Linked DNA regions of Homo sapiens: all the other regions are linked to region 1. Evidence: promoter capture Hi-C in 16 types of primary human blood cells and fetal thymus (Javierre and others, 2016). All regions are on one chromosome and are shown on one strand. The core of a region is centred on a gene start or on the middle of the fragment in contact, and the rest is flanking DNA. Distances in the headings are between cores, read along the strand shown. Region 1 holds the start of GLRB (glycine receptor beta). Region 2 has its middle 190 kb from the start of LINC02272. Region 3 has its middle 170 kb from the start of LINC02272. Region 4 has its middle 150 kb from the start of LINC02272.

What was found. The method cuts DNA at HindIII sites, captures the fragments that hold promoters and counts their contacts. A CHiCAGO score of 5 or more calls a contact.
Region 2: a fragment that was not itself captured here is called in contact with the fragment with the promoter of GLRB in region 1 in 1 of 17 cell types (M2 macrophages); the score reaches 6.0 in M2 macrophages.
Region 3: a fragment that was not itself captured here is called in contact with the fragment with the promoter of GLRB in region 1 in 1 of 17 cell types (M0 macrophages); the score reaches 5.6 in M0 macrophages.
Region 4: a fragment that was not itself captured here is called in contact with the fragment with the promoter of GLRB in region 1 in 1 of 17 cell types (monocytes); the score reaches 5.3 in monocytes.

What each region holds. Positions count from the first base shown.
Region 1 is chr4:157,074,586-157,077,577 of GRCh38, forward strand. GLRB (glycine receptor beta) reads left to right here and starts at 1,565. Exons shown (of 10, transcript NM_000824.5): 1 at 1,565-1,712. The HindIII fragment of the contact is 1,648 bases long and covers 1,117-2,764 here.
Region 2 is chr4:156,451,668-156,454,659 of GRCh38, forward strand. No RefSeq gene overlaps it. Among named protein-coding and RNA genes, the nearest start is that of LINC02272, 190 kb to the right of the region's middle. The HindIII fragment of the contact is 3,147 bases long and covers 1-2,992 here.
Region 3 is chr4:156,469,836-156,472,827 of GRCh38, forward strand. No RefSeq gene overlaps it. Among named protein-coding and RNA genes, the nearest start is that of LINC02272, 170 kb to the right of the region's middle. The HindIII fragment of the contact is 4,295 bases long and covers 1-2,992 here.
Region 4 is chr4:156,489,894-156,492,885 of GRCh38, forward strand. No RefSeq gene overlaps it. Among named protein-coding and RNA genes, the nearest start is that of LINC02272, 150 kb to the right of the region's middle. The HindIII fragment of the contact is 7,171 bases long and covers 1-2,992 here.

The DNA.
Region 1 (2,992 bases), core at 315-2,814:
TTCTTCATATGACCTATTCACCAAAAGTTATATCTTATGAAACGTATATTATCAATATAGTTCTCTCTAATAAAGCATTAAAATCCAAAGTTATATCCTGATCCACTTTGGCGGGGGGGTCTTCAAACAGTACAGCTCTTTGAATAATGATCATTTTGTAATGTAAATAAGGTAATGATCACTTATTAATGATCACTACTCTTAGGCAGCAGAATATCTCATGAAGCTTATGGAACACGGTTATATGCAGGAAATATTCCTTCCCTCCATATGCTGCGGGTGGAAAAATTTATTAGTGGATACATCTGTGGGTCCACAATACAATGCTAAGTGATGCTCACTTGAGACAATGCTTTTTTAATAAAAAAAATCCATCAGGACCTGGTGCAGTGGGGTGGGGTGGCTCAAGCCTGTAAGCCCCCCAGCTTGGGAGGCTAAGGCAGGCGGATGGCTTCAGGCCAGAGTTGGAGACCATCCTGGACAACAAAGCCAGAGATGCTGTCTCTTAAAAAATAATAATAATAATTAGTGGAGCGCAATGGCCTGTCTGTTGTTCCAGCTACTCTACTAGGGAGACCGAGACAAGAGGATCTCTTGATTGCCCAGAAGTTCAAGACTGCGGTGAGCGATGACTGTGCCTCTGCACTCCAGCCTGGGCAACAAAGTGAGCTCCTGTTGCTTAAAAAATAACAATTAAAAAAAATCAATCAGGCATACATTCAAGAGGTAATAGGATAGCCTTATCTGTTATCTAAGGGCTGCATATCCAAGTAAGGGCTACTTCTTCACAAGGATGAGGACAACAGTATTTTGCTCTTATAAGGCAGAGACCCTGTCTGGTTCAGATATGCAAAAATCACTAATTTTGAATCTCTGGTAAATTTCTTTCAAGATCTGTAACTCTAAGTAAATCTCTTAATATAACTGAGTTTCAGATTCTTCATCTACAGAAGGGGATGACAAAACTTGCCCAGGAATGTGGTGAGGGCCACATGAGATAAGGCGAGTGAAAGGTGTTTTGCAACTGTCAAGTTCTGTACACATGTTAATTATGTAACAGATGTTAAACATAGTATTACCTGTATGACTATATTGTCAGTAATTTTGACCAATTTAAGCTTGCTCAGAAAGTTCAGGCTTTTAGAAATTGGAAGACCCGGAGATTAAGCTGGATGTCTGGGTTCCAGGCAAATGGTGAAATGACAGAAAATGTGTTTTGTTCGCTTTGACCCAAGAAGGTCATTTGTTGCTCTGTTGTTTGTTGCTAGTGGTCAAAAGCTGACCCCAAGCAATCCCAGCTCCTTGAAAGGTTTTTTCTTTTTGTACCGACACTATCATTCCCGCCCTTCGTCCCCAACTCCTTTAGTCCCCTAAGGAGTGAGGGGGGTACACATTTCTGCTCGGTAACCCCTCCAATGCCTGAAGGGGACGATGCCGTGACGTTGCTCTGTCGGGACACCTCTTCCCTCCCCCGCCCGCGGTCGCCAGGTTCCCCCGCGGCCCGCGCTGTCCCCGCTGCGGCCCCGACCGCGGCGCGCCACGGCGCAGGCTCCGCGGCCCGAGCAGGCGCGTCAGCCGAGCTCGGCGGTGGCGCGGGCGGCTGGGACGCAGCTGCCCCCGCTCGGCGCCCGCTGCACCCTTAGCAGCCACTGCCACCTGGGCCCGGAGCCTCCACGATCTCGCCCGGCGATTGTGGGCAGGGGCGCCTCCGGGTAAGTGCCAGGAGCTCCACTTAGGAGGAGGGGACGCGGGTTGGGGCGGCGACGGTGGTCTGAGGACGGGAATAGACGCCTTTGCGGAAACAGCGGGTCAAGCCCGGGGCGGCGGAGCGCGAGGAGCACTGCGGCGTGCCCGGGAGGACGCGCGCTGCCCTGCGCGGGAGAGGGGCGCGGGGCGCCTGGCAGCGGCAGCCGGGTCCCCGCTGCGGTGGCGCCCGCGGAGACGCTCCGGGTGGAGAGATGCAGAGGGCCGGGGTAATTAGGAAACGCAAGGTTGGCCAGGAGGGCTCCTTGCGTTGTTTTGTTTATGAGGATCCTCCAGTCAATGCAGCTGTCCCCCTTGAAAGATTGGGGGTGAGGACAGAGCAGAGTGGTGAATTTCTCTGTTTTTCGAAGCGTTAGGGGGGCTCGGCCCTCCTTTTTGCGGGGGCAAGGATGTGAAAGTGGGAGAAGTACCTGCTGCTGTGGGCAAGGTGTCTGGAAGCAGGTGCCGCTGTCGGATGGGGGAAGGGAGCGTCCAATGTTGTGAAGTTGCCAGAGGAGAACCTTGTGTTGTTGCTGTTGGTCTGATGAGCCCCCTCTGTTGTCTTCAATTTAAAGTACCCAGGGAGAAGCCCCTCTGGCTTGCCTGGAGTGTGTGTAAAAGATAAATATGGGGGGAAGAATCCTGGGGGGGGGGGGGGAAGATGAAAAACATGACATAAGGAGAAGCAAATTTCTGAGGGTGAGATGGGAATTAAGTTAGCGTTGAAGAATATGACAGGTCTTTTACTCTGCGGAAAACAATGAAAGAGAAACAATTTATGGTTTGGAAATGAAGGTTGCAGAAGAGTTTGAACTTCTCTAGTGTAGGTAGAGGCTTAATTATTTTTTATTTATCAGAATCTCTGGCAAGAATATGGTTCTGATTTGAGCATGAAAATGTTATTAAAATATGGCTAGGACGATAATTTGAAAAAAATGTAACAACACTTGTTTTATTTCTTGTTGTAGAATTTCTGAAGTAATCTTTTTGATGACAAATGTTAGTAGCAAATAAGTAAGAAAGCTTTAAAGCTAACTTAAGAGGCACCTTTTTGGGGCAAAAAGGTAGCTTGCCAATGTAATGTGTTTAAATAAAAAAAGCAATGAATTTTGAATGTGGAACTCTTTGATATTAACTTTTTCTTTTATCTGTCTTTTTTAATACTTAGAATTTCTTTTTCTTTAAAATACATTATTTTTGAAAAAATATACATAAGAACTTCAAACAATATAAAAATTTAAAAAGAAAA
Region 2 (2,992 bases), core at 312-2,811, 620 kb before region 1:
AACACGCCACTCCATTATTTGAAACTATTCAATCACTTCCAACTAAGAACTGACATTATGTTGTACTACCTTCCTATCAGTACATTCAGACTGTTGTAACAAAATACCATCAACCAGGTAGCTTATAAACTACAGAAATTTATTTCCCACAGTTCTGGAAGCTGGCAAATCCTAGATCAAGGTGCCTGAAGATTAGATGTCTAGTGAGGACCTGCTTTCTTGTTCATAAACAGCTGTTTTGTTTTTGTTTTTTACCTGTGTCTTTACACGGCTGGAGAGCCATATTTCTCTGTGATACCTTTTATAAGGGTACTAACCCCATTTATAAGGGCTCTGCCCTCATAATTTAATCACCTCCAAGGAGCTCACCTGCATATACAATCACATTGGGTGTAAGAATTTAACTTAGGAATTTGGGGAGGGAGGACGGACACAAATAGCCCATCTATAGTACTTCCCATTGTACCTAGATTATATCTACACAGATCTCATCTTATTTGACTCTTCTTCAATTCTCCTCTTTTAGCCAAAGCACAGTTTCTTAAAACCTGGCTGCCACCTCAGTGGCCCTGCACATTCTCTCCTCTCTGCACAGATAGCTCTGCACCCTAATTTTCATATGAAGGGTCCCTCTCACCACTCAGGCTTCAACTCAACTGTCACCTTCTCTTTTGGGGTAGAGTACTATGGCATGATCATGTCTCACTGCAACCTTGAACTCCTGGGCTCAAGTGATCCTCTTGCTTCAGCCTCCAGAGTAGCTGGGACCACAGGTGCACACCACTATGCCTGAATAATTTTAAAAATTTTGGTGATATGGGATCGAGACCATCCTGGCTAACATGATGAAACCCCGTCTCTACTAAACAATACAAAAAATTAGTCGGGCGTGGTGGTGGGTGCCTGTAGTCCCAGCTACTCGGGAGGCTGAGGCAGGAGAATGGTGTGAATCCAGGAGGCGGAGCTTGCAGTGATCCAAGATTGCGCTACTGCACTCCAGGCTGGGTGACAGAGCGAGACTCCATCTCAAAAAAAAAAAAAAAAAAATTTGGTGATATGGGGTCTCACTATGTTGCCCATGCTGGTCTTGAATTCATGGGCTCAAGTAATGTTCTGGCTTTGACCTCCCAAAGTGCTGGGATTACAGGTGTGACCCATGGCACCTAGAAAACTGTCACCTTTTAAACATACCTCCATTGGTCTTCTTTTCAACATTGCATTTCTTATTTCCAAGTAACTTTCTATTATTTTACCCTGGCCTGTTTTCTTCACTGCATGCCTTAGTGTCTAATATCCTCTTTCTTTATTTCCTTATTTCTTTTGTTTGCATGTTTTTTTTTTTTTGTTTTTTTTTTTTTTTTGAGACAGAGTCTCGCTTTGTCACCCAGGCTGGAGTGTAGTGGCGCGATCTCGGCTCACTGCAAGCTCCGCCTTCCCAGGTTCACACCATTCTCTTGCCTCAGCCTCCCGAGTAGCTGGGACTACAGGCGCCCACCACCACGCCCGGCTAATTTTTTGTATTTTTAGTAGAGATGAGGTTTCACTGTGTTAGCCAGGATGGTCTCGATCTCTTGACCTCGTGATCCGCCCGTCTCGGCCTCCCAAAGTGCTGGGATTACAGGCATGAGCCACCGCGCCCAGCCCGCATGTTTGTTTTTTATCGCTTGACTCTACCAGAAAATGTAGCTTTATGAGGTCAAGAGTCTAATTTTTCTTGTTCAGTTATATCTCTCCAGTGCCAGGAATGAATGAAAGGAAATAAATAGCAAACAAAACAAAATATTAGGGCTTCATATTACTTTGTTTGTCTTTAAAATATTTTGCGCATTTATGGCTTGTCAATTTGGGAAGTTTCTGCTTCTCATTCATTAGTTCATTCATTCCTTCAGTGTGTGTTTATTGAATACCTATGATATAGTTTAGATCTTTGTCCCTACCTAAATTTCATATAAAATTTTAATCCCCTATGTTGAAGGTGGGCCCTAGTGGGAGGTAACTGAATCATGGAAGTGGTTTCTAATGGCTTAGCACCATCCCCCTAGTGCTGTCTTATGAGTAAGTTCTCACGAGATCTGGTTGTTTGAAAGTGTTTAGCACTTTCCCCTTCGCTCTCTCTCCTGCCAGCAATGTGAAGATGTGCTTGCTTTCCCCTTGCTTCTGCCATGATTGTAAGTTTCCTGAGGCCTCCCCAGCCATGTCTCCTTTACAGCCTACAGAATTGTGAGTCAATTAAACTTCTTTTCTTCATAAATCACCCAGCCTTATGTAGTTCTTTATAGCAGTGTGAGAATGAATTATACAACCTACTTATTTGCCAAACCACTGTTGAGGTCTAAGAGTTCAAAGACAATTAAAACTGTTCCTTCACTCAATGAACTAATAATGTAGACCAACCTAAAAATACTAGATGGTCCAATAAAGCTCTGTATAAGTGGTTTCATAACCAATATTTAGATCAGTTATTCAATTAAATAGGTAGAGAAAATATTTTGTAAGCCACTTAGTAGATACTGTCAGCCTCATAAAACTATGGAGGAAAATCAACAGAAATTAAGGATTTTCAAAAATTTTTCTCAAATGTTTTTGTAAACATGCATGCATACACACATGCATGGGAAGATATTTGCTACTCTCCTTAGAGGAATTCCTAGGTGCAATATGTGATTGGTATTATTTTTATATAGTGTTCAGTAATGTACTTAAAATAAAAAAAATAGACTGAGTGTAGTAGGTATTACCCATAATCTCACCACTTTGGGAGGCCAAGGCAGGAGGATTGCATATGGCCAAGAGTTCAAGACCAGCCTAAATAACATAGCAAGATCCCATCCCTACCAAAAAAAAAAAAAACTTTTAAAAATTAGCCAGGTGTGGTGGTGCATCTCTGTTGTCACAGCTACTCAGGGAGCTGGGGCAGATGGATCACTTGAGCTATAATCTCACCACTGCACTCCAGCCTGGGCAACAGAGCAAGACCCTTCCTCTAAAAGAA
Region 3 (2,992 bases), core at 346-2,845, 600 kb before region 1:
TCAAGCCATCCTACTTAGGGGTATATATCTAAAATAAATGAAACAGGATCTCAAAGAGATATTTGCATGACCACGATCACTGCAGCATTATTCACAATAGCTAAGAGTAAGAAACAACCTATATGTCCATTGACAGATGAATGGATGAAGAAAATGTGGTATATACATACAGTGAAATATTGCCATATACCGTAACATTGATGAACTTTAAGGACATTATGCTAAGTGAAATAATCCAGTCACAAAGAGACTCATTGCATGATTCTACTTTATAAGTGGATGTAATATGGTGATATCTAAAGTAGGAAAAATCTTAGAAGCAGAAAGTTGAATGGTTGTTGCCAGAGGCAGAGAGGAAGTATAAAAGCAGAGTTGTTCAATGGGTATAGTGTTTCAGTCATGCAAGATGAAAAGTTCCAGAGAGCTATTGCACAAAATTGTTCATATGGTTAACACTACTGTATTGTACACTTAAAAATAGTTAAGATAGTAAATTGTATGTTTTTACCACCATAGAAAAAAGCTCTGAACTTGCCTTTTGGAATAAAAATGTGAAATTCTATATGAAATGCCTTTACTATAGTAAGAAACACAAAATAACTCCTCTGAATTATTTTACCTCTGCCTGCTTTTCAAGTATACAGTATTTCCTGAGATATTATTGAAGGTCAATGGGAAAGAATAATACAGAGAAAAATAAAGTTTGTCTTGCTTCAAAACTGTGGAGTGAAGATTAATTAGAAAAAAAATCAAAGGGTCATAGAAGAAATACATATGTTATGGAATATTTTTTCAGTTCTCTGGAGCCCAGCTAAAAATTTATTTCTTCTAGGACATGCCAGGAGAACAAAAAGAAAATAATTGAAATGGAAACAATCAAATAGATCCTATAGGGACTGAGATTTATATTTAATGATGTTAACTGTTGGTCTCTTTCTTATCTAAAAGCATTGTAGGGAGGTCAAAGGATTTTGCAGCTGATCAAGGAAAAAGAGATGACCACAAGATAGAACTAGCCCTCAAAGACCTTTATTTGGGTCAGACATTTACAGGTTTGCATGTGGGGAAAGTCCCTCATAGAATGAGAGGGTCCAGAGGTCCCCATTCAGAAGCAGAAGAAGGAAGGTCCTCCTGGGGCAGATGGGGCATGGGCAATGGGGATTCATGTGCAAATGATGTCACTCAGCAGCAAGATGGGGAATCTCTGGATCAGGGATCTCCAAAGGGCAGCAGCAGCCTGGGGTCATTCATAGCTCTGGGGTTAATCATCTTGTCTATGGCCAGCAGACAATGAGAGCAGTTTTGTGGGGTCCACAAAGCATTGGGCTCTAAATGGCTAAAATTCTATCTATCGGGCTACATTTAAAGCAACTGGATACATAAAAATTTGAATTTGGCACCCATGATGTTTTGAGCAAATGGGTTCCAGCTTGCTATGAAGAAGTAAACAATTTAGGGCAACATAAAAGGGGGGAATCCTTACTCCATTTATGTAACAAATATGTCACAAAGCCTACTTGCTTAACAATAGAGAACAGGAATAGGCATCTATTTAAGGAATTTGGCGTCTTAGGAAAATAATTATTTCTCGTGTGTGTGTGTGTGTGTGTGTGTGTGTGTGTGTGTGTTTTGTTTTTTGAGACGGGGTCTTACTCTGCTGCCCAGGATGGAGTGCAGTGATGAAATCACAGCTCACTGCAGCCTCAACTTCCCAGGCTCAAGCAATTCTCCCACCTCAGCCTCCCAAGTAGCTGAGACTACTGGCACACATGTCCCTACACCCAGCTAATTTTTTTTTTTTTTTTTTGTAGAGATGAGGACTCACTGTGTGCCCCCTAGGCTCTTCTTGAACTCCTAAGTTCAAGCATTCCTCCTGGCTCAACCTCCCAAAGTGCTGAGATTACAGGGGTGAGCCACCACACCAACCTCTCCCAAGTGTTTTTAAATGAAGCAATGTTATTTTCAAAGGAAGCAAATGTGTTATTTAGTTGTCTTTGGAAAACTCAAATATATTTTTTGTGACATAAAAAATGTTTCGTGCTTATGAAGATGTGTCTAGTTTATCTTCATGGTCTCTAAGTTTGTTTCATTTGCTTGATTGTACTGAAGTAAAATATTTCTTGTCATTTTGAGACTTTTGAAAAATGTTTAGAAGACAGATATGGAGACTGTGGAAATGGGTCAACTTACTATTAATTTTGAAAATTTGGTTTTAACTGGAAAAACTATTCTTCAATTACAACAGTCTTTAATGGTTCTTTAATAAGACTATTTGTAAATAAAATTACTTTGTCATGAAATCAAAACATTTCTAGTTTTTCATGTGTAATTTAATACATATGCAAATACATTCTTAAAGACCAACTCAATAAACTTTAAAATCTTTTTTTAATGTAATGGGATAATTTTCATTAAGTAATGTATAACATTTATCACTTATTTTATTTTTTCTGTTTTCTGAATGCAGCCCAAGTTGATTAATTTCAAACTATAAAAACGTATTTGTTTGTGAATACTTAAGACATTTATCATATGATGCCATTTAAGAACCATATTAAAATATCATAATGTCTTTTTAGTAATAATGATATCATAATATCTGGGCTATGCATCAGAATGCAGAGGAAGCCATTAGGTTATATCCTGTAACCAATAATATTATGGTTTCAAAAATACGGGAAAAGGAACCCTATTGCCTTTACATAAGCACAGACATAGATTGGAAACAAATAAGAGGAAGAATTTCAAGTTTAAATTTAAGAGAATCTCATATGTAGATAAACTAGACTGGATGATCCTATCTGATGATATTCCTTGGGTCCTTCTAGATTCATGTTTTGCACATCCTGTCATTTCTAATAAGTATTTAGAGCACTGAATCACAGAGACAGCTGAAATTAGAGAATGCTGAAACCTTAAGCAAAAGTGGTTAACCCCAATCAAGTCTCAGTAATTAATATCAGTAGTTGGCAGCTGAGCCTGGATGTCATCA
Region 4 (2,992 bases), core at 136-2,635, 580 kb before region 1:
GCGCTGCCTGAGGCAACAGTGATGGCCTCCCCTGAGGCAGGTGCCTGGCAAGATAATGTTGATTCTCCTCAGAAGCCACCCACAACAACCCTGTTTGCTTCTAGACCTATAACTGGACTAAAGTCCCAGCGGGCCCCTAAAGGTGAGGTTAAGAGTGTGACCTAAGAGGAGGAAAGGAATTGCTTGAGCTTTCTAAGTTATATAAACAGAAATCTGGAGAAAAGGCATGGGAATAGATATTAAGGGTGTGGGATGATGGTGGAAGGAACATAGAGTTGGATCAGGCTGAATTTATTGATTTTTACCCACTAAGTAGGGATACTGCATTTAATGTTGCACCTCAGGGAGTTAAAAAAGGTTTTAATAGTTTATGTGCTTGGTTAGCTGAAATATGGATTAAAAGATGACCTACTGAGTGGGATAGAAATGCCTGATCTCCCTTGGTTTAATGTAGAGGAAGGGATCAAAATGCTTAGGGAGATTGGGATGGTGGAGTGGATTAGTCACTTTAGATCTATTCACCCCATCTGGGAAGATACAGAAGATATACCTTTTTCCAATGTCTTGTGAAATAGATTTGTGAGGGCAGCACCTGCATCTTTGAAGAGCCCTGTAATTGGTCTTCTCTGTATGTCAGATCTAACAGTGGGAATTGCAGTCACTCAACTACAAAATTTAAATACAATGGAAATAATTGGATCCCAAGGTGGCAGGGGCCAAGTGGTGGCACTCAACCATCACAGGCAAGGTGAGCATAGCTACCATACTGGACAGCAGAAGCAAAGCAGCAATCAGAATAGTCTGACTGGTGTGGAGCTCCGGCATTGGCTAATTAGTCACGGTGCTCCTAGATGTGAAATTGATAGGAAGCCTACTGCATTCCTACTTAATTTATATAAGCAGAAAACTTCTAGATCAAATAGACAAAAGACTCATTTGAATTATAAAAGCAGAGAATCACAGCCCCTCAGTCAATTTCCAGATTTAAGCCAGTTTATAGACCCAGCACCCCTTGAATGAATGGGAGGCTGGGTCCCCTTGAGGAAGCACCCTACTACACTACTGACAATTTATGCTGTTAACCTTTCTCCCATCCTTCCCCAAGGAGACCTCTGGCCTTTTACCAAGGTAACTGTGCATTGGGGAAAGGGAAATAATCAGATGCTTCGGGGACTACTTGACACTGGCTCTGAGTTAATGTGGATTCCAGGGGACCTAAAACGTCATTATGGTCCTCCAGTTAAAGTAGGGGCTTATGGAGGTCAGATAATTAATGGAGTTTTAGCTCAAGTCCAACTTACAGTGGGTCCATTGGGTCCCCAGACTCATCCTGTGGTCATTTCTCCAGTGCCAGAATGCATAATTGGCATAGATATACTTAGCAGCTGGCAGAACCCCCACATTGGCATCCTGACTGGTAGGATGAGGATTATTATGGTGGGAAAGGCCAAATGGAAGCCATTAGAGGTGCCTCTACCTAGAAAAATGTAAGTCAAAAACAATATCACAACCCTGTAGGTATTGCGGAGATAAGTACCACCATCAAGGACTTGAAAGACGCAGGGGTGGTGATTCCACACCACACCTGTGTTCAACTCTCCCATTTGGCCTGTGCAGAAGACAGATGGATCTTGGAAAATGACAGTGGATTATCGTAAGTTTAACCAAGTGGTGACTCCAATTGTAGCTGCTGTACCAGATGTGGTTTCATTGCTTGAGCAAATTAACACATCTCCTGGTACCTGGTATGCAGTCACTGACTTGGCAAATGCCTTTTCCTCCATTCCTTATGTGACATAAGATTTATTGACTTCACATCAGCATTTAAGTATCGTTAACTTTATGTAATAGTATTTGGGTTGGGGATTGGTGCATTTCTGGTTGTAGGAAGGATAGTTGTATTATGTTAGGTGTAATTATAAACCTTATTATTGTCTTTATTTGAAGATTATGTATGATCTCAGGAAATGTATATGGATTCAAGTTGATGAAAGGTGGACTCATGATGGTTAATACTGAGTGTCAACTTGATTGAACTGAAGAATGCAAAGTATTGATCCTGGGTGTGTCTGTGAGGGTGTTGCCAAAGAAGATTAACATTTGAGTCAGTTGACTGGGAAAGCCAGACCCACCCTTAATCTGGATGGTTACCATCTAATCAGCTACCAGTGAATATAAAGCGGGCATAAAAACATGAAGTGACGAGATGGGCCTAGCCTCCCAGCCTACATCTTTCTCTCATGCTGGATGCTTCCTGCTCTCGAACAGCAGACTGCAAGTTCTTCAGTTTTGGGACCCAGACTGGCTCTCCTTGCTCCTCAGCTTGCACACAGCCTATTGTGGGACCTTGTGATCATGTGAGTTAATACTTAGTAAACTATTAAGTTTCTTACTTCTGTCCCTCTAGATAATCCTAATACACAGTGGTTTACCTTTTCTTGAGTTACACTATTCCAAATTCTTTACTTTTCTCTCTACTATTAATGTGCTGGATCTTTTATTTTTATTTCAATTTTTTTTTTGTTTTGTTTTTGGAAATGAAGGAGCTTCATTCAAAAGAGTAAATAAATCATTTTAAAAATCCATTATTAGAATCTGTTACTGTGTGATAGGAATTGAAATCAAATTGTATAGCTTAGTTATTAAGATATCTCACTAACCAAATTTCATATTTTAATTTTCTTTATTTAATACATATATAACTTTTGAAAGGTAAGTTTTATTGTATTATTATTATTTATTATACATTCTTTTTAGAAATATAGTTCTCTAGGCAAAATATTTCTAAGGAGTATATTGTAATATTCTTTTGGACTAGAGAAAGCATCTATTCCCAAACCAGACTCTGGTTTAGTCTCTCCTTTACTCCCGTCCATGTCCTGTGTGCCCTTGGGAAAGTCACTTAAGGATTCTGTACTTCTATTTCCTCATCTGTAAAATCAGAATAATTTAAAAATCACCAACATCACAGAGTTATTATAAAGACCAATTG